Regions from separate parts of the Homo sapiens genome. Here all the other regions are linked to region 2. The links are contacts of gene promoters, found by promoter capture Hi-C in human tissues and cell types (Jung and others, 2019). All regions are on one chromosome and are shown on one strand. Each heading gives the region's core, a stretch centred on a gene start or on the middle of the fragment in contact. The rest is flanking DNA. Distances are from core to core; before and after follow the strand shown.

Region 1 (6,614 bases), core at 998-3,497, 140 kb before region 2:
CTGGAAAAACTAAAAATAAAAATGGAAGATGGTTTGCTGGGAATGGGACTTGGACTAAGGAGGGGTGAAACAGGGCTGGAGACTTTCGGCTTTCCATTATAAGTCTGTGTGTGTGTGTGTGTGTGTGTGTGTGTGTGTGTGTGTGTGTGTGTGTGTGTGTGTGTGTGTGTGTGTGTGTGTGTGTGTTATGTGCATAAATGAAGTTTTTTCATTAAAGAAATAACATTTAAAAGACAATAACTGTTGGTGAAGATGTAGAAAAATTGGAACCCTCCTACATTGCTGGAGTGATTGAAAAATGGTGTAGTCACTTTGGAAAACAATTGGCAGTTCCTCAAAAGGATAAAATAGTTTACGATCCAGCAATTCCAATCCTAGGTATATACCCAAGGGAACTAGGAACACATGTCCACACAAAAACCTCTACACAAATGTTCATAGCAACATTATTCATAATAGCAAAAAAGTAGAAGTGGCTGGGAGCAGTGGTTCACACCTGTAATCCCAGCACTTTGGGAGGCCGAGGCAGGAGGATCACTTGAGGCCAGGAGTTCAAGACCAGCCTGGGCAACAAGGCAAAACCCTGTCTCTACAAAAAACTAGCTGAGCATGGTGGCACATGCCTGTAGTCCCAGCTACTGGAGAGGCTGAGGTGGGAGGATGGCTCAAGCCTGGGAGGTTGAGGCTACAATGAGCTATGACTGCGCTGCTGTACTCCAGCCTGAGCGACAGAATAAGACCCTGTCTCAAAGAAAAAAAAAAAAAAGTAGAAGCAACCAAAATGTCAATCAACTGATGGATAAACAAAAAGTGGCATATCCATACAATGGCATATTATTTGTCAATAAAAAGAAATGAAGTACTGACAGAGGCCACAACCCGGATGAACCTTGGAAACAGTATGTGACGGGAAAGAAGCCAAATGCAGAAGACCACATATGGTATGATTCTACTGATATGAATTATTCAGAACAGGAGAATCCACAGAGGCAAAAATAGAATATTGATTGCTACAGGCTGTGGGTGGGAGGCGGGTGTGGAGGCATGGGGAGTGACTGATAATGGGGGGTGGGGTTTCTTTCAGGGGTGATGAAAATGTTCGGATATTAGATAATGGTGATGGTTGCACAATTCTATGAACATACTAAAAAGCACTGACTCGTACACTTTAAAAGGATAAATTTCGTAGTAGGTGAATTCTATCTCAATAAAGCTGTTATTTAAAAGAAATTAAAAGGGGGAAAAAAACCCAAGTGTCATCAAAACTTGCCTTTTGAAGACTTGTTCTCTGTAAGAATATGGATCTAGTAACAGTGATTGAGCACTCTCTTTTCATCCTCGCTTACAGAGATGTGACAAAATTAATATGAGTACTAAAATTACACCAAAACATGTAACATCTTTTTAACCCTTTCAAAATAAGGGAACAAATCAAAAGCTTCAAGTCTCACCCTGACCACAGCCAGTTTCACCCTGCCCACATAAAATACCAGCATGCCAAGGGCAATAAATAGCTATGAGAGTCATGGAGGCTCCTCAGGCCAACCGGAGAAGACACATACTGTAAATTTTAATTTCCTTTCTTCTTTGATTGAGGCTCATTTGCATTCAATGGCTAATGTGAGTTGTAGTCTGCCACAGGATATGGGTAGTGGGTTACAGTTTGTATATGAGGACAGGATGGTAAAGGAAAGTAGGAAGATTTAGAGCACGCCATGGAAAGGACACATGCAGACTCTAAGCAGGTCTGTCATCACATAAGCTTCATTAGGCAAGATGCAACTCACATTTCCATTTACTCCCAGTCAGGCAGTCCTGGACTCTGGATGCAAACATGCAACAACAACAAGCCTTTGAATTTCCGAAGACAATGAGAACACAAATTGAGGGGGATACTTATAAAAACAGTGGGTGAGGCCGGGCGCAGTGGCTCACGCCTGTAATTCCAGCACTTTGGGAGACTGAAGCAGGCGGATCACCTTAGGTCAGGAGTTCAAGACCAGCCTGGCCAACATGGCGAAACCCCGTCTCTACTAAAAATACAAAAATTAGCTGGGGATGCTAGTGCACACGTGTAATCCAGCTACTCGGGAGGCTGAGGCAGGAGAATCGCTTGAACCTGGGAGGTGGAGGTTGCAGTGAGCCAAGATCGTGCCATTGCACTCCAGCCTGGGCGGCAGAGCGAGATTCTGTCTCAAAAAAAAAAAAACAAAACAAAAAACAGAGGGTGAAAAACCTTCAGGATTAAGTGAAAGTTAAGATGCTTGTCATCTGAGCACATTTATGTAGCAAACTCAGCCACAGCCCGTGCCTGCTTCATGGGACATGCCTTTTGTCTGTGTGTGGAATATGACATTGACAGTAAGTCTGAACCTTTCCCTCCTGGCTATCATACCTCCACCTTTTGCCAATGAATAAACTATCTGTAACTGGCATCTAGGGGGTAATAATTATTTATTGGAAAAATGAATCAAAAAATGATTTGGCTCAAATCTATGGCTGTCTTTTATGGAAACATTGTTGGGCTACAGTTACAAAGGGTCACCTCTGTTACAAATGCCAAGGGGGCTCTGCTTGTTGCTGTCCATGTCATTGACCCTGCTCTTGGTTTTTCTCTGCCCTCCTTCACATAATCTCAGGGTGCCCACATTATCTAAGGATGGGAATCTCAAGGCTAAGCACAACGCAGAGCTTCCTTATGGAGCTAGGCACAGCCTGGCCTATGACACACAGGGTTGGCTTCTCAGTTTCTAGTAGCTTCCACTAGGAGCAAGGCAGGCACTTTCTCTAGCCTTGGGGCTGATTTCTAGATTCAATTTATTAGCTCAAGTTTGAGTTCCATTCCCAGGTGGAGTACTAAAATCCCCAGTTAGCTGTCACGCCCAGCGTTTCCTCAACTGGGCTTTTGCCCTAAGTACCCAGACACCCTCTCCTTGGCTCTCTAAAGTGTTGTTGTTTTTTTTTTTTTTTTTTTTTTTTTAATGAGACAGAGTCTCGCTCTGTCACCCAGGCTAGAGTGCAGTGGCGAGATCTTGGCTCACTGCAACCTCCACCTCCCAGCTTCAAGCAATTCTCCTGCCTCAGCCTCCTGAGTAGCTGGGATTACAGGTGCCTGCCACCACACCTGCCTCATTTTTTTGTATTATTAGTAGAGATGGGGTTTCACTGTGTTGGCCAGGCTGGTCTTGAACTCCTGACCTCAGGTGATCCACCCACCTCGGCCTCCCAAAGTGCTGGGATTACAGGCATGAGCCACTGTACCCAGCCTAAAGTGGCTATCTTCTAATCCATCCTGTCAACTTCTTCCTAGTCCAACTTTAAGTCTCTAAGCTGTCTGTTCCTTCTAGTTTCTGATTAGCCAGAGTTCAGCCAAACGAAAATATGTTTTGATGTTTTGTATGCTCACTGCACACCTGGGTACTTACTAGGCAACGTGAATAAGAGGACACACATTTGCTCCCTCAGTTTATACCAATCACGAGTGCAAGCAAAACAGCTGAGAAGAGAGGGCGGTTACTCCTCTGGCTGATGACCCTTTCCACCTCCGGGACACAGGTGTGTATAGCATCTGCTCTCCCAACCACCATCCCAACCAGCATCCCGTCTTGCTCCCTCTAATCCTTCACAAACTCTCCAGCAGTTGTTTCTTTTTGTTTTGTTTTGTTTTTCTGAGACAGAATTTCACTCTGTCACTAGGCTGGAGTGCAGTGGTGCGATCTCGGCTCCCTGCAATCTCCGCCCCCGGGATTCAAGTGATTCTCCTGCCTCAGCCTCCCAAGTAGCTGGGACTACAGGTGCATGCCACCACGCCCAGGTAAATTTTTTTGTATTTTTAGTAGAGACGGGGTTTCACCATGTTGGCCAGGATGGTCTCAATCTCTTGACCTCGTGATCCACCTGCCTCAACCTCCCAAAGTGCTGGGATTACAGGGGTGAGCCACCACACCCGGCCCAGCAGTTGTTTTTCTAAAACACAAATAGGCCAGGTGCAGTGGCTCACGCCTGTAATCCCGGCACTTTGGGAGACTGAGATGGGAGCTTCGCTTGAACCCAAAAGTTCGAGACCAGCCTGGCCAACATCCTGTCTCTACAAAAAAAAAAAAAATTAAATTTTTACACAGCTGTGCTCTCAGCTAATTGGGAGGTTGAAGCAGGAGGATTGCTTTAGCCTGGGAGGTTGAGGCTTCAGTGAGCCTTGATCATGCCACTGTACTCCAGCCTGGGTGACAGTGAGACCCTGTCTCAAAATAAAACACAATGTGAATGGCCCACTTAAAATCCTTCTGTGGCTTCCCACTGCTTACAGAAAACTCTTCCACAGTAGGATCCTGTCCCATCTCTTTCCTTTTCAGGCTCATTTGCCTCCACCCCGTTTGCTCTACTTCAAGCACACCACCAACGCACATGGCATCCAAACTCACTCGCTCCTGGAATACCTTTCCCCAGCTGTTGAACTGCTGAAGACCTCAAACAGAACTTCCCCTGAGAAGCCTCTTCTGCCCCTTTGGTCAGGCAGACATGTGTCAGGCACCATGTCAGCTGCACAGGAAGGATGCCGTACCTGGCAGCTCACCATTCAGCCTCTTTTACCACAGCCCTCAGCATGCTATGCAGTCATTCTCCATTCATGTGGCCACCTCTCTCTCCTAAGGGAGGGTGTGAGTTTTGAAAAGACATTCTTCTCAGCATAGAGCAGGTACACAGTAAACACAGAAGAGATGTGCACATGTAACGGACTACAGCAGGAGATACACTTAAAACAGGGCACATGCTGGGCACAGTGGCTCACGCCTGTAACCTCAGCACTTTGGGAGCCCAAGGCGGGAGGACTGCTTGAAGCCAGGAGTTCCAAACCAACCTGGGCAACTTAGCAAGCTCCTATCTCTACAAAAAATTAAAAAATTAGCCAAGTGTAGTGGCAGACACCTGTGGTCCCAGCTACTTGGGAGGCTGAGGTGGATCATTTGAGCCTAAGAGTTTGAGGTCATAGTAAGCTATGATTGTGACACTGCACTCCAACCTGGGTGACAGAGTGAGACCCTGTCTCTAAAAATGAAAAACAAAACAGGCTACCTGGTGAGTAGCATAACTCATGGTGGGGTAGAAATCAAGGCCAACATAATATTTCTGTAATGACTCTGCTGCTTTTAGGTTGGGTTAGGCAATATCCTCTTGCTAAGATTAGTATCGACTCTGAGAAATACTTTATTCAGTTGTAAAGTCCCAGTTAAATTCCTTTGCACAACTGGAGAAATAAAGCCTTTGATTAAAAACTAAAATTTCCCCAGCCCTCTAAAAAGGGATGGGGGAGGGGAGCAGGTGGAGAGGAATATCTGATCTGTCATATTCTTTAGTCAGAGCCATAAACGTGTTTGGGTGAGACAATCTGATCTTCTGATAACGTTGATAAAAGTCACTTGAAGATTGGGTCACAGGAAGCCCAAGATAAATGCTGAGAGGAAACAGGTTCTTTTTGAAGTAGCCTCTTCGTAATCATTTTCCCACACATTTGTTCAACTTCCGAAAAAGGACTGAATACCTGATTTGCTTTGCAAATGAAACAGCTTAAGACAGAGAAATTGAGATAATAATTAATAAATGTGTTTGGAAGGCTCCTCCAGCTCGCTTTAAGTTCAGGCTGTGGCTTCAGAACTGTGTTAACTCCTTCTGTAAAGGCACAGGCTAACGGTGGTCTTCAGTGATTTTTACTCTACCTTGTTTTAAAAATGGATTCAAAGTGATTTATTGGAAAAGATTAAGACAGAAAATAACATTATTAGGACCAAAGCAGAAAGGGAGTAGGAGGAAATGATGATCCAGAGAAAAATAAGACTATAAGCAGGTCATCAGATATTATAGTCCTATCAGCAAAAGCACAGTGGAAAACGCATTATTTTACTTCACTCTTTTTATATATGCGGGGAGAAAATAGTCTGATATAATAATCTGGTACTTAGCTTTAAAAGAAATTTCTCGAGAATCTTCACAAGATGATAGGATGGACAATGTCTTCAGCAGCATCCCGACAACACAGGCAGTAACAGACGCGTTTGTAAGGGAGTGGCTCAGTGGTATCGCTTGATGAAACTGGACACCATAGCTCCAGAACTCAATTGCAGAAGAGGGGCAAAGGGGGAAAAGGCAGCACGATTTATTATCTTGTACATGCCAGGGCAGGCCTTTAATTTTGTCTTCATGTTCTACACACAGGTAAGAGTTTTACATAAGCTGGAAGTGGGGGAGAGGAAGACCCCTGGAATGACCAGAGGAGTTTCCACCCCTACAAAAAACACATTTTAAAAAAGCCACTTGACGCCAGGTGCAGTGGCTCACGCCTGTAATCCCAGCGCTTTGGGAAGCTGAGGCAGGCAGATCACGAGGTCAGAAGTTTGAAACCAGCCTGGCCAATATGGTGAAACCCTATCTCTACTAAAAATACAAAAATTAGCCGAGCATGGTGTTGCGTCTGTAGTACCAGCTACTTGGCAGGCTGAGGCCGGAGAATCGCTTGAACTCGGGAGGCAGAGGTTGCAGTGAGCTGAGATTGCGCCACTGCACTCCAGCCTGGGCAACAGAGTGAGACTCTGTCTCAAAAAATAAAAAGTAAAAATAAA
Region 2 (6,202 bases), core at 2,169-4,668:
CCCATTCCCACCCCTGAGCTTCCTGAGAATGGGCCCTGCTCTTCCTCATTGCTGCACTCTCAGTGCCCAGCAGAGTCCCTGGCATACAGTCAATGTTAAATATTTGGGCCGGGTGCAGTGGCTCACGCCTGTAATCCCAGCACTTTGGGAGGCCGAGGTGGGCGGATCACTAGGTAAAGAGATCAAGAGCATCCTGGCCAACATCGTGAAACCCCATCTCTACTAAAAATACCAAAAATTAGCTGGGCGTGGTGGCACACGCCTGTAGTCCCAGCTACTCGGGAGGCTGAGGCAGAAGAATCGCTTGAACCCGGGAGGCGGAAGTTGTAGTGAGCCGAGATCGCGCCACTGCACTCCAGCCTGGCGACAAAGTGAGGCTCTGTCTCAAAACAAAACAAAACAAAACAAAACAAAACAAAACCCCAAATATTTGCTGAATGTCAAGGGAAATAACAGATTTGCAGGGAGTAGATGTAGGGGTGGCCTTGGTAGAGAAGGAAGAGAGTTCCTTAGCTTCTGCGCACGCTTCTTCCCTCCCTATTAGTCTTTTCTGGGGAAGAGGACAGAATGGGTGAAGCACTTGCCACCATAGACACTGGCCAGGTTCCTCATGCAATATTAGGTACGAACAGAGCAGGCAAGCACAGCTTGGGGCAGGACTCACCAGAAATCAATCCCTTCTGGTCCTGGGAGGGGGATCAAGGGTAAGAGTTGAGTGGGTGTGCCTGGGTCAGGGTAAGAGAAATTTTGAGGCTTGGGAAAGGGCAGTGTTGAGGTTTGGGGCTCCCTATGAACTATGGAGACTTTTGGGCGCTGGCCTCCATTCTCTGAGCTGCTTGGTAGGGAGTGCAGAGTAGGGTGGCCCACGGCTAGGGTGAGGACCAAAAAGCAGGCTTATTTGAGCCTCCTAGACACTATCTGGAGCTCAGAGTCACCCTCCACCCACGTCCCTGAGGCCCAGGATGTTACAGATTGCTGGTTAGGGCAAGGATGGGGGTTAGTGGTAGGAGGATATGGTGTTTCCTAAAAGGGAAAGGCAGTACCTACAACATTCCCAGGAGAGGCTCTCAGCAGACCTAGGACCAGAACATCTTGATGTCACCCACCTGGGGGCATTTGTATATGCCTACTAAGCCCAGGAGCTTAGCCCTCACACTTAGGGTTGGGGACCTCTTTTGCAAAGTATTTCCACTCTAAACTTTAGGAGGACAAGAAACTACTCTGAGTAGCAGCTCCTGGGAGGACAGTCCCCTCATCTAGGAAGCCCACCCGACTGCTCAGACATTAGCCCTTTCTCTTCCTACTCTTTCTGAGTCCAGCTTGGGAGCACTAGCTCATGTCACCCATCCTGCCCATTTTGGCTTGCTGCAGCTACAGATGGGGATCACCAAACACAAGATGTTTCCTCAAAAGAGGTCTTGAAAATCTATGAAAATCTATCTTATTTGTGAGTTACTATGTTAAAGGATTCTGAATTCAGCAAATAAAAACAGCTTGAATGGGCAATAAAAATGTGTCTACACATGTGTTTCCTTATTGACTGTAACTTGTTGAAGATGCTTTTGCACTGGTGGCCCTATCAGGTTGATGTTCACGCAGGCTCCTCACAGTGGGTGCTTTGCAGAACCTACCATGCCAAGAGGGCCCAGCTGCTTTGGTGTGTTTTGGGGGGCCTCAGCACAAAACAACAAGGCATTTTCATACTTGTCTGGCTGCAGGGAGCCTCTTGCAGTCCAGCCAGCCCCTGTGGCTGGGGGTAGCCCTACCTTAGGGGTCCCTGCCTCAGTGGCAGTGGTACCTGTGGGCTGGGCTGTTATGCCTGTGCCGGCTGCTGAAAGGGAGTTCAGAGGTGGAGCTCAAGGAGCTCTGCAGGCATTTTGCCAAGCCTCTCCAGAGCAGAGGGAGCAACCTAGACTCCCCGCTAGAAAGACACCAGATTGGAGTCCTGGGAGGGGGAGTTGGGGTGGGCATTTGATGTATACTTGTCACCTGAATGAAGGAGCCAGAGAGGAAGGAGACGAAGATGAGATTGGCCTTCAAAGCTAGGGGTCTGGCAGGTGGAGGCACCAGTCTGAAAGGAGGAGCTGGGGCTGAGGAATTGTCAAGGGGGCCAGTGCTCCTTCAGTCTGGGCTTCATGGTGTCTGTGACAAGTCAGGCAGCAGTTGGGATGTGGCTCTGGAGTTCAGCAGGGGAGGGTAGACCAGGCAAGACCCAGGTTTTTAGTTAGAGGTTACTGGGGAAATAGCTGAAGACAGTTTCCGGTGGATAAAATCACACCAAGGCAATGGGAACAGATCCAAGTAAGGCGACCGAGGAGGCACAGGAGAACGGACAGCCTCAAATACAACGAATGATCAGGATTTACATCATACCTCCCTCAAGGCCACCTCACATCTGACCTCTCTGTGGAGGGGCTATCCAGGCCGCCCCTCCCAGCGGGTCTTCCCTCAGTACTGGGCTCACTGTGTAGGCGCTGTCTCCCTGTCAGACTGAGTTCCTGGGTACTGGACCACGTCTCAAAACCCAGTACCCGCAGCTGGGTCTGGCTAGGCGGACGTTCTGGGAAGTTCACCGGCTCTCCCTGTCCCCAGCGTCCCCCGTTCTCCCAGCCTGTCCGCGCTGACAGCGCACCCCACGCAGCATCCACGCTCCGAGTGTGCGACTGGTTTACGGGCTCATCGGTCGCTGCACCCCAGATGCAGAGTCTCTGGAGACCCGAGCTCCGTGCCATGCACAGGAAATGCAGGAAGCTGGCGACACCCGGGGAGAGGCGGCCGCGGGCGTGGACAGACCCGGTTACCTGGGGTTCAATCTCTGGGAGCCGAGGCACGGGAGGGAGAGAGGCGCAGGCCCCGGCGGCCGCAGGGGGCGGCAGAGACACGCGGAGCGGCTCGACAGCAGATGGCCGCAGCCCCGCGCAGTTCTGGGCCTTTCCCGTTGGGTTCACCGTCGGGGAAGGATCGCGCGCAGGGGACAGCGCGAGCCCGGGAGGGAAGGACCCGGCTTCTCCAGATGCTTGGCGACAAAGGGCAGGAGCGGAGGGTGGCGGAGTGAGACCGCGCTGCCCGCCGGCGCCACACGCGGCGCGCCCAGCCGCGCCCCTGAGCCGCGCCGCCAGCTTAGAGTGGGCCGCCTCTCCGCCCTGCAGCTCTGCAGCTGGGAGAGGCGCGCTGGGGTCCGACTCCACTGGCGCAACCTGACGCGGCGCCGAGCCAGACACGTCCCGGCCGAACGATGCCCGGGCTGCCCCGCGACCACCGCCTCGCCGCCCGCTCTTCACCCCCGTCCGCCCGCAGCCCCGCCGGCCTCCCGGGGGAAGCGGACCCAGCCGCCCGCTTCCCGCTCCCCCGCCCCCGCCGCGTACCTGAGGCTCCCGCCGAGACGCGCTCCTGGGCCGTCGCAGCCGCGCGGTGACATCAGAGCCCCGGGCTCTGACTCCGACCCCACCTCCAGGCTCCGGCCGCGGCCTCAGGGGAGGCGCCACGTCCGGCCGCGGGGGCGGGAGCCGCAGCCTCTTGGTAGCGTCCGCGCGCCGGCCCAGTCCCAGGTCTGAGGGTGGACAGTGCGTTCCCGCGCGGGCCACAGGCCTCTTGCCCCAGGCCGGAGAAACCTGAGCGAGGTGGTGGGAGGGCGACTACGGCGACCGCCCACCGGCCTCCAGCGCGTCCGTGATGCTCGGGGGCCGGGTCCCTCGGGGCCTGACACCTCCCTCGGTGGGGAGGTCCAGGGCGGGCCCTTAGGCGCCTGACGGCTACCCGCTTTCCCCCCCAAGCCCGGCCAAGAAAACAGAGCTGCCAGGGCCTCGTGCCTCCCACCTGTCCCGCTGAGTAACTCGGCCCTTGATCAACTCTACCCCCAGACCCCCATTTCCAAAACTCTTCCAGCTCTTTGACTCCCACCATGGGCTCTTGTCTCCTGTTCCCTGTCCCATTTCTTTCCATTTCTCCCACTACCCAGCATGGTCTGGGCCCTCCAGCCTGCTACCGGGGTGGGGGAGAGGGGGGCGGAGCACGGGGAAGCCCCTGGACTTGTGTGCACCTTAGCTGTCCTGAGTGTGTCCTTAGGGAGCTGGACATATGCATACCCACTAAGGCTGGACACTGGCGCTCGAGGCCCTCACCTTCCAGGATCTCCATTTTCCAAAGAACGCTCTGCCTGCACCTGCCACTGAGCTCTCCTTGCTGTGTCCTCAGGCTCCCCTGCCCCGACTTCCCAAACTCTGTCCTATGAATACCACTCTGCCAAGAAATGCTCCGTTCCTGAGAGGGGCTGGGGACCCTTTGATGAGCCTCTCCGGCTCTCAGGTCTCTGCCTTTGTCCTCCGCTGCCCTCCCGCTCCCACAGGATCAACAGGGCTGGGCTCAGGGGCTGTGTCCTCCCATGGTAGTATCCCTGGCAAATAAAGGTTTATTGGTGTTAATAACCAGGACTCTGAACTCTGGCCAAGAGTCAAGGTTGCCACTTCCTAGGGACACTGGGAGCCTGAGGAACTCTGTCTTCTTGGGTCTTCTTGGGTTCGGAGGCAGGAGACACCTGAGCCCGACTTCTGAGAGTGGTGCCCGCTGGGCCCTGCTCCTTCTTCAACACCATCTGGACTCAGGCACCAGCTTCAGCTGGAGCGCTAGGCTTTAAGACAGTGCCTAAGAACCTTTCGGCTTTGAAAGACTTTTGTTGTTTGTTTTGCTTTTTTGAGACAGAGTCTCCCTCTGTCGCCCAGGCTGGAGTGCAGTGGCCGGATCTCTGCTCACTGAAACCTGCGCCTCCCAGGTTCAAGCAATTTTCCCTGCCTCAGCCTCCCAAGTAGCTGGGATTACAGGCACCGGGCACCACGCCCAGCTAATTTTTGTATTTTTAGTAAAGACGGGGTTCGCCATGTTGGCCAGGCTGGTCTCAAACTCGTGACCTCAGGTGATCCACCCACCTTGGCCTCCCAAAGTGCTGGATTACAGGCATGAGCTACCGCACCCGGCCTGAAAGACTTTTAATATTTTTAAGACCCTGATCCACAGAGTCTCACAGCAGCATCAAAATAGAAGAAAGACAGCCCAGCAAACAACAACAAAAAATTTTTAATTGCTCATGTTGGCTGGGGCGGTGGCTCATGCCTGTAATCCCAGCACTTTGGGAGGCCAAGGTGGGCAGATTGCTTGAGCTCAGGAGTTCGAGACCAGCCTCGGCAACATGGCGAAGCCCTGTCTCTACAAAAATACAAAAAAAAATAGCTGGACGTGGTGGCACGCACCTGTAGTCCCAGCTACTTGGAAGGCCTAGGCACAAGAATCGCTTGAACCGAGGAGGCATAGGCTGCAGTCTGCCGAGATCACGCTACTTCATTCCAGCCTGGGCAACAGAGTGAGATTCTGTCTCAAAAAAAAAAAAAATGGTTATGTTTTTTACTTATATTTCTTGAAAACTATGGGGACACAGTGTCCAGAACAATTCTATTAACCCACTCCACCCACCTACCACTCACCTCTTGCACACACTACAGCACCTCTCTGCTAGGGACCATGAGGACGCAGTCCAGAGCGATTCTTATTAACCCACTCCACCCACCTACCACTCACCTCTTGCACACACTAAGCAACTCTCTGCTAGGGACCATGAGGATGCAGTCCAGAGCGATTCTTATTAACCCACTCCACCCACCTACCGCTCACCTCTTGCACACACTAAGCAACTCTCTGCCTAAGTCCCCAGAAAACTGAAATCCCACCTACCCACGTCTCTCTTAACCTCTTCTGTTCTGAGAAAGAGAAAAGTAACCCCTAACATCTGAAAGGCCCAGCTGGACCTTGGTGTTGCCAGAATTTGACCTGACATTCACAGCAAGGCCTTACTGTTGTCCCATTGGACATAAGCCATTTCACAGGGCATCAATGTGAGACAGGGCCGTTCTTTAACAATGATGGATCAAGACAAAAACAACAGCACTCTAATCATGTCTAACACATACAAAAGCATGAACATTGTCCAAGTCACAAAAATGACCTAGCTAATGAGTGCCTGCTGTCCTAGCTAATGTGAGTACCTGCTGCTTCTTTACCAATTGCAGCTTTAGCCTCACTCTAATCATTCCTCTTTCTAGATAAGATTTATTAATATACCCAATCATAGAATTACTCTTGCTTCTTGACAGCATCCAGCACAAAGGAAAGTTCTGCTTCTTTAACCCTCTTGAAAAGCACTAACCCAAACCCA
Region 3 (2,877 bases), core at 1-2,500, 190 kb before region 2:
CTTGTAGCAAGAAAATGTAAAGTTTTCTGTTCCAGAGCCTAACAGGACTTACATATTTGACTGCAGTAGGCATTATATTTAGCTGATGACATAATAGGTTCTGTCATAGTGTAGATAGGGATAAGCCAAAATGCAATAAGAAAAACCATCCAGAGGAAACTCTTTTTTTTTTCTTTTTCTTTTTTTTTTTTCCAGATGGAGTCTCGCACTTCTCTGTCACCCGGGCTGGAGCGCAGTGGTGCAATCTTGGCTCACTGCAACCTCCACCTCCTGGGTTCAGGTGATTCTCCCACCTCAGCCTCCCGAGTAGTAGCTGGAATTACAGGTGCGCGCTCCCACACCTGGCTAATTTTTTGTATTCTTAGTAGAGATGGGGTTTCACCATGTTGGCCAGGCTGGTCTCAAACTCCTGCCCTCAGGTGATCTGCCCACCTTGGCCTCCCAGTGTTGGGTTTACAGGCGTGAGCCACCGCGCCTGGCCTGGAGGAAACTCTTAACAGGGAAACTAAGAAAGAGTTGAGGCTGAGGAACTGGGGCATCTGGGTTGCTTCTGGCCAGACCACCAGGCTCTTGAATCCTCCCAGCCAGAGAAAGAGTTTCCACACCAGCCATTGTTTTCCTCTGGTAATGTCAGCCTCATCTGTTGTTCCTAGGCTTACTTGATATGTTTGTAAATGACAAAAGGCTACAGAGCATAGGTTCCTCTAAAATATTCTTCTTCCTGTGTCAGATATTGAATACATAGAAATACGGTCTGATGCCGATGAAAATGTATCAGCTTCTGATAAAAGGCGGAATTATAACTACCGAGTGGTGATGCTGAAGGGAGACACAGCCTTGGATATGCGAGGACGATGCAGTGCTGGACAAAAGGCAGGTATCTCAAAAGCCTGGGGAGCCAACTCACCCAAGTAACTGAAAGAGAGAAACAAACATCAGTGCAGTGGAAGCACCCAAGGCTACACCTGAATGGTGGGAAGCTCTTTGCTGCTATATAAAATGAATCAGGCTCAGCTACTATTATTACACTCTCCTGAAGCTAACCAACATTTCCTGCAACATTATGTAGACTTTTAAAAGAAGGGCCTGAAGCATTCTCACAGGATAGGCTAAATGTAGAACAAGAAGCTGAAGACCCGTTAGAGTTTTCATGGCACTCCTTATCAGAATAAGGTCACTGTCTCATCAGTTATAAGACATACCACTATTTTATGTGCCAGCAGGAATGAAAAAATGCAATTATAACCATAAGATGTTTCAGAATCAATGACATAATAGTATTGCAAACCAGATTCTAGCTTAAGCTAGAATGAATATTCCAGTATAGTAAGGAGTCTCATTAAGAAAGTAGCCCCTCATAGAACTAAGTCCCTACCACAGCATACACAAAGACTTAGCTGCTGGGTCAGGCCATCTGGCTTCAGGTAAGGCTCTGTGAGGACAGCCTACATTGGAAATCAGGAAGAGGAATGAAGTTTTAAAGAATCAGGAATATGGCATCCTTGGGGAACAAGGCTGGATCCTTCACTGTGCACAGGTTTGTAACAAAGATGTCACAGATACTTGAGCTTTCTGCTTTCAGATCAAGGCAGAAGATTACACTTGATAACACCTCTAGGCCCTTGACTTTTTTTAAATAAAATTCTAAAATCATAGAAATAGATGCTTACATTATCTAACTCATTTTCATAGTTTGCAGTTTTTGCTTAAAGAACATGCCATGCAGCTGGGCATGGTGTCTCACACCTGTAATCGCAGCACTTTGGAAGGCCGAGGCGGGCAGATCACCTGAGGTCAGGAGTTCGAGACCAGCCTAACATGGTGAAACTCCGTCTCTATTAAAAATACAAAAATTAGCTGGGCATGGTAGCATGTGCCTGTAATCCCAGCTACTCGGGAGGCTGAGGCAGGAGAATTGCTTGAACCTGGGAGGCGGAGGTTGCAGTGAGCCGAGATCGTGCCATTGCACTCCAGCCCAGGCAACAAGAGCGAAACTCCGTCTCAAAAAAAAAAAAAAAAAAGAACATGCCATGCATATATGTATTATGTTGTCAGCCTAGACAGCTGATCCCAATTTAAAGCATCTGCAGATTACTGTCTAAATCATAGTCTACAAAAATGACAAACTTGTGATCTGTAATCAGTATCCCTACGTGCTTTGATGATTTTTAGTGGTAATTATAAATGAGAAAATACAGAGTTTGAAACATGGTCTCTTTGAATTAAAAATACTTTCAAAAATATCTTGAGGAAAAAGATTTTTTGTAGCTATTCTGAGTTATGAAAATTAATTAGCAATAATTGTCTCCTTGGTGTGAGGGGAGAGAACAAATAATGGAGGTGGGCCTCCAGCCTACCTAACACTGGCTTTTGCTGAGGCTCTAGCAGCCAGCCAGGGGCTCTGCATGTGAGTGGGTGGTGGTAGAGTTGACAGCAGTTTGGATTCAAAGACAGGAAGGAAATGCCTGTCCCTCACAGGGCCAAGCTGTGGCCCTGTCTTCTGGCTTGCCTAGGCATTAAAGAAAAGACATAAACTATTCTAAAATTACCAACTCACTGATGTGTGCGCACCCACCCACAAACTGAGGGGGAAAGGGGACTTACAGCTCACACCAGAGTAGTTTATACTTCCTAGAATAGCCCTACTCTCTCAATTCTGTGTGTCTTGTATCCTCAGATGGTTTCAGTGGGTCTGAGGGTTTTAGTATTAGGTTTCTAGTAACCACGAAAATGCCTAACAGTTCCAGTTACTTGGATTTTCTACAGGTAAGCTTAACTGAAACCACATTTCTATACTCCTGATACTTTGACCTAGGATTTTCTTTTTTATTCTCTCAGTCTCAGGATTATACACAAGAATATGGAAATTTAAAGGTA
Region 4 (5,891 bases), core at 668-3,167, 160 kb before region 2:
TGTCTGTGCTCTGGGCCCCATCCCCTCCCCTCTCAGGAACACAGGCAGAGCATATAGCCGGGGGCTCAGGGTGAAACTAGTCCCAGCTTCAAGCCCCAGCTGTGTCCCTGACTTCTAGTGTTGTTACTTCAGCCACGTCTCAGTGGCTCCGTGGAAATGGAGCTCCACTCATTCATTCAACAAGTATGGATTGAGGCCTTGCCTGGGTGCCAGACCCTGCTCTAGGTGCTGGGGGTCCACTAAACAAAACAAGGTTGCTTCTAGCAGGGAGACAGAATAAGCCAACGAGAGAACACTCAGTGTGTCGGGCGGTGGTAGCCGCTACCGTGGGAAATAGAACAGTCCGGGGCTGCACAGCAGGGAGAGTGCTGTGTTATGCGAGGAGGTTGGAGAAATCCTCCCCATGAGATAAGATGGGAACAGAGATCGGGACGAAACAAGGGGAGGGGACACCCATGCACAGATCGGGGCAAAGTCATCAAGGGAAAGGGAACTGCAGGTGCTAAGGTCTTGAGCAAGAGCGAGCTGGGGATGCCCTTCCCAGCACTCACGGGTGGCCCTCGGGCTGGAGCAGAGGCCACGGCAAGGGCAGCAGGAGCCCAGCAGGGCCTCAGAGGCCAGGACCGGGCTTCATTCTAAGTGGAATGGAGTGATGTGGTCTGACTCACATTTTAACAAAGTCACCGTGGCTGCTGTGTGGAGAACGCAACGCAGGGCGAAGGCGGAGCAGGGAGATGAGCGCCAAGGTGCCTGCAGAGATGCTGGTGGGGAGCGATGGTGCTTGTGGTAGTGGAGGACTGGAGAGGGGCGTGTGTGTAAGATGCATGTATACATTATACTGCTATCGTATACATTATTTACTTAAATAGTATATTATATAATCCATAAAGTATAGATATAAATATATAATATATAAATGTGCATATATGTTAATATTTACATTTGCTATGCAATTACAATTTTAAAATCTTCTATTACAGAAAATTTCAAATATACACGAAAGTCACTCCCAAGCATCCATTGCCCAGCGTCAACAATGAGCAACTCATGGCCAGTTTTGTCAATTTTGTTCCATCTCTACCCCCGCCCCTTCCCCACCACCACCAATCCGAGATGTCACATCAGTGAAAGGAGAGGCTTTGGGGTGGCTTGGATATGAGCGTGTGAGGTCTTCCCGTGTTGTGTGTGAACAACTGCAAGGATGAAGCTGCCGCTCGCTGAGCTGGGGCAGCCTGTGCTTGATTGTGTCCCATTCAGAACACAGCTGACAACCTACGACGCAGCCTGCAGCCCAACACAGCTGCCCTCCCAGATGCCCATACTGAGTTCCACCTCATCTGGCCACTTCCTGTGCCCCCAACTGCACTCAGATATCTCATGAGGTCACTGATTATCAACTCCACTCCGTGCAGCAACGCATGTCTGCCCTTATCTAGCCTCACCTACGAGGAACATTGCTGCCGCTGACCACTGCTCCTCCTCCCTGGGCCTCTCTCATGCCTGGACTCTGCACCCTGCCTCACCACCTTCCAGTGTCGCAGGAGTGCCCTGGCTCATTTCTTGTCCCCTGTCTTCTCTCACCCCTTGGCCATATTGTTAGGTCAACAGGAGTGGAGGAGAGCCAGGGTGACACCATTTTAAAATCAACTCCATCTTAAAACTAGCTAGGCATATTCCTTGCCAGTCACTACCCATGGTCATGAGATGTTTACGCCAAGGAAGCAGTTTAGTCACGCCCGCAAGGACAAACTCCTACAACAGCAGAATGTCTGGGTGTCCTGATGTCTCATAACAATATATGCTTTCAAGCTATTTACAGTAATGCTTTGATGTACTTACTCACTAAAAGGCCAAGGATAAAACATTATTTAAATCAACAAAGTACTAAATTTTGTGACACTGTCAGCCCACCTGCACATAGACATAATGTAGCTTGGCTTTTGTATAGACAAGACCCCTATATAAGAAAAGCTTTAAGCAGACAAGGCGTTCCTGCTCATGCTTTCTGAGGACACCCTACTCTGAGTAGTTTTCTACATCCTTTCTTTACCACACACCACGACTCACCTTGAATTCCTTCCTGTGCGAGATCCAAGAACTCTCTCGGGGTCTGAATCGGGACCCCTTTTTCCAGCAACACTGTGTTCTTCCCCTTGGCTTAGTCACCCTCCATGTCTACTGCCTGCAGGCTGGACCCTCCCCTGTTCTCAGAGTATGGCCCGTAGCAGCCCCTCAGCTGGTGGCTCCCACCCGCCGCCTGCCCTCTCCCCTGCCTCCTCCCCAAGCCAGAGACCTGGGGCCACCTGCGACTTCCTGCTCTCCCTCACCCCCACATTCAGTCACTTCCAAGTGCTATTAATGATGATGGTGGTGGTGATGGTGATTGCTGGCATTTTCCGGGGGCTTGCAATATGCCGGTCACCACACCAAACACTTCATATTTGTCACCTTCTATAGTATTCCCTCGCCCCTGTAATCAGCCCAGTTTTACAGAGAAGCCTGGATGGGGGAACTTTTCCAAGGTCACCCAGAGCTGGGATTCAGAACCAGTCAGGTCCCGTGGGCACCAAGACACCAGGTCTTAACCTAGACACTGTGCTGGGCCAAATGACTCAAGAGCCCACAGCTCTCCCTGCCACCATCCCACCCGATTCGCGCCAGCTGCCTCTGTCACGGGCGCCTGCAATGCTCTGGCTGGGTCCCCTCGGCCCGTGCTCCCCTCCTGGGAGCCCTCTCTTCAGTGACCTCGGGGCCTTCCACCTGCTGTCCCTTGCCTGCACTCACCCCACCCTGCAGCCCCTGCTCCTGGCTAAAGCCGGCTCATCCCTAACTCTGCTTAAGTGCCCCTCCCTCAGAGAAGTCTCACCTTTTTCCATGACTAAGCCTGTGGGGGTTGGAAAGCACTCTCCTGGGTGCTGGCCTGCAGGACTGACAGAAGAGGAGGGAGGTGAGATTCACCCGACTCGGACCACAGGAATGGCTGGGACAGCAAGCATCAATGAACGAGGCCCGTGGAGACTGGGCTGCATTGTGCGACCTGTATTCCTTTCTCCTAGTTGACTGCCGCGTTTCTGACTCCTTTGAAGCGAGCATCTGGCTTTTCCAATTAGATGAAGGCTGACAAGCTGTGGAGGGGAGGGCGGCAGATACCATGTACCTGGTCATTCAGACTAGGGGTGTCCTTGAGCAGACTCATGGTGTGGAAGTCAGACCGGGAGTCTCCTGGAGCAGACTCACAGTGTAGGGGGTCAGCAGAGGCAGCAGCTTTGGAATCCCGGCACTGCAGCCTCAGGGGTGGCTCGCTGAGTGGGTCAGGTCTTTAGGGTTCTGGGCCCAGCCTGGAGCCTGCCCCTCCAGCCCTCCTGACATTCTTAGAAGCACCTACTTTCCTGCATGAAATCCTTTCCTGACTAAAGCACCCACAGCTGTGTCTGTTCCCTGTAATGAATCCAGATACTAAAGTAGGCGGGCTGCAGTGTGGAGACCGTGACCCACCAGAAACAAGGACGGCAACTCAAAGACGGAGGAGGCACATCCAGGAGGAACCTGTGGGGAGGGCCCGTCTGGCCAGATCTCCACTGCCCTGTCCAGACTTGGGCTTGCCTAATAGATGAAGCATCAGTCATTTCAGCAACTCAAGATAGGAGTCATCATTATCATCATCACACTCACTGTGTGCCAGGCACTATTCTAAATACTTGAAAACTTTAAATGTATTCATTCCTCAGAGCAACTTCATGAGACAGGGACAGCTATGACCCCTATTTCACAGATGAGGCTGAGTAGCGTGCCCAAGGTCACACAGCCAGGAGGCACAGCAGCCAGGCCTGACAGACCACCTGGGCCCAGCGTCCGCTCTCTTAGCCACCGTGTACTATAGCAGCCTCTGTTAACAGACCCCCTTTCTGGATGACACATGCCAAGTACTTTCCATGGAACCACTCACTTGCTCCTCACAAGGAAGAGCCACATTATTCCCATTTCACAGGTGAGAAAATCGAGACCCAGAGAGAGTTAATGATCTACTCATGGTCACAGAGTTGATAAGGGCTCATTTGCTGGACTCCCAAACGCAGTGCTCATAACTGCTACGTTCCAGGGCCTGAAGGAAAAACTCTGCATCCATGGAGGGGCCGGCGCTGGTTCTCAGCTCTCACACAGGGGAGGGGAAGGGGCCTGTGACCGACACAGCCAGAGACAGCAGTATTCAACCTCCCTCCTGAACTTTGGTGTCAGGCCCACCACACCCCGCCAAGGCACTGCCCATGGCCCTGCAGGCTCGGAGACTCCTTCGCAGTGGTGGTAGTGGTGGTGATCACTGCCCTCCTCTTTGTCCCTGACAATGCAGGCACCCACCTTCCCCATCTCTACCCACCTGCCGCACCTGCAGCTGCCATGGTGCTGTCCCTGCAGGCGAGGATGGCCCATCCCCCACTTCTGCCCTCTGGGGAGACTCCTGGTCACTCTCGAATGTTCTGGACAGTTTATCCTTTCATCTTTGGCCTCATTTCACCATTGAAACAAACAAAACAAGCTGGATTCTGCTTCTGAGCTGAAGGTGCCCACCTAATATTCCCTTTTCACTCACCAGCTCTGCCCTCAGAGCCTCAAGCCCAGGGTCTGCCCTTTAGTGGGTGCTTAGAAAAACACCAGATGGACACATAAATGGCTGTTCCACTGCCCCCACAGACGCCCCAGAACCCCGCCCTCCCCACCAGCTCCCCTTCTGCATCCCCGACTCTCCTTGAGAACCTATTTGGCAGAAGCTCTCCACCCAGCAAGTCCGCAGCTTGATGAGCTCCCTCCTGTGTTAACTGGAACCGCTGCTGTACTTCATTCCACATAATAGTTCATCGGATCCAAAGTCCCCACCTGCTTTGGAAGCAACCACCTGCTCTTCTCATAACTCTCCTCCAGTTTGTGCAGTGAAGAATCAACCTTTATCCAAGAAGTCTGGCCTTTGTCCTGGCTCTTGGGAGGTCCTACCAGCTACAAACCCTTGGAGTAAACAACGTGGCTAGTCCTTGTCACCAGTTCCCAGGAGGTAGCCCCAAATTCCTAGGGATTTCCCAAGTGATAGGAGTATCTTATTATTCATGGTGGTCTCTGAGAGTTTATGCGAGTGAAGTGACTCATGGTGGGCCCTAGGTAGTTTTTGCTGACAATACGACCATGGAGGGGCTGGCCACGCCACTGAGGTTCTGTGATATCAGCCTGGCCTCCCGGAAGGAGACCAGGAAGATGAGTTCAACCCAGTGGCCAATGAGTCCATCAACCACACCTATATGATAAGACTCAAATAAAAACTCTGGACCCCAAAGCTCAAGTGAGCCTCCCTGCTTAGAAATAGTCAGCATTTTGTCACACGTCAAAGTGCTGAGAAGGTGATGCCTCTGACGCCACACGGGGAAGACAATGAGAGCTTTGTGTTTGGGCCCCTCCTCCATCTCGCCCCTGTGTCTCCTCTTTTGGCTGGTTCTGATTTGAATGCTTTTGTTATGATAAAACTGTGGCCTTACGTATAGCACTCTCCTGAGTTCTGTCAGTCATCCTAGTGCATTCTGGAACCTGAGGGGTAGTGGAAACTCCCAGATTTGCAGCCAGTCAGCAGTGAGGGTGGGCTGGGAACCCCTGAATGTGCAGCTGGCGTCTGAAGCAAGGGCAGTGTTGTGGGGGACCATACCCCTCACCTGTGAGGTGTGGCTCATCTCAGGTGGTTTGGCATCTGAAGCCACTGCATTTAGTTTGGTAACCTTGCTGCCCAGTCCCAATGGAAGGATCCTAAATATGGTCTAAGGACCTCCTGATACAATTATCCAGATTCTCTCCTTCACAGAACTTGAGGCACTGCGATAAGATCCAAAACTATATATAGACAGTGGAATACTATA

What was found. Contacts are between HindIII fragments. The study calls those that stand out against the background at their distance.
Region 1: a contact is called between a fragment that was not itself captured here and the fragment with the promoter of SHROOM1 in region 2, in 1 of the 25 tissues and cell types used here (heart right ventricle).
Region 3: a fragment that was not itself captured here is called in contact with the fragment with the promoter of SHROOM1 in region 2 in 2 of the 25 tissues and cell types used here (hippocampus and lymphoblastoid cells).
Region 4: a fragment that was not itself captured here is called in contact with the fragment with the promoter of SHROOM1 in region 2 in 1 of the 25 tissues and cell types used here (lymphoblastoid cells).

What each region holds. Positions count from the first base shown.
Region 1 is chr5:132,683,625-132,690,238 of GRCh38, forward strand. It overlaps a transcript of KIF3A not described here. Among named protein-coding and RNA genes, the nearest start is that of IL4, 13 kb to the left of the region's middle. The HindIII fragment of the contact is 4,749 bases long and covers 1-4,622 here.
Region 2 is chr5:132,827,229-132,833,430 of GRCh38, forward strand. It overlaps SHROOM1 (shroom family member 1), which reads right to left and starts at 3,419. Exons shown (of 10, transcript NM_001172700.2): 1 at 3,366-3,419; 2 at 233-379. RefSeq lists silencers at 2,788-3,097, 3,308-3,727. The HindIII fragment of the contact is 17,651 bases long and covers 1-6,202 here.
Region 3 is chr5:132,637,351-132,640,227 of GRCh38, forward strand. RAD50 (RAD50 double strand break repair protein) reads left to right here. Exons shown (of 25, transcript NM_005732.4): 23 at 731-873. It overlaps TH2LCRR (T helper type 2 locus control region associated RNA), which reads right to left. Exons shown (of 3, transcript NR_132125.1): 3 at 698-915. Among named protein-coding and RNA genes, the nearest start is that of TH2LCRR, 17 kb to the right of the region's middle. RefSeq lists an enhancer at 2,269-2,348. The HindIII fragment of the contact is 4,174 bases long and covers 1-2,877 here.
Region 4 is chr5:132,665,278-132,671,168 of GRCh38, forward strand. No RefSeq gene overlaps it. Among named protein-coding and RNA genes, the nearest start is that of IL4, 5.8 kb to the right of the region's middle. RefSeq lists an enhancer at 1-209. The HindIII fragment of the contact is 7,573 bases long and covers 1-5,704 here.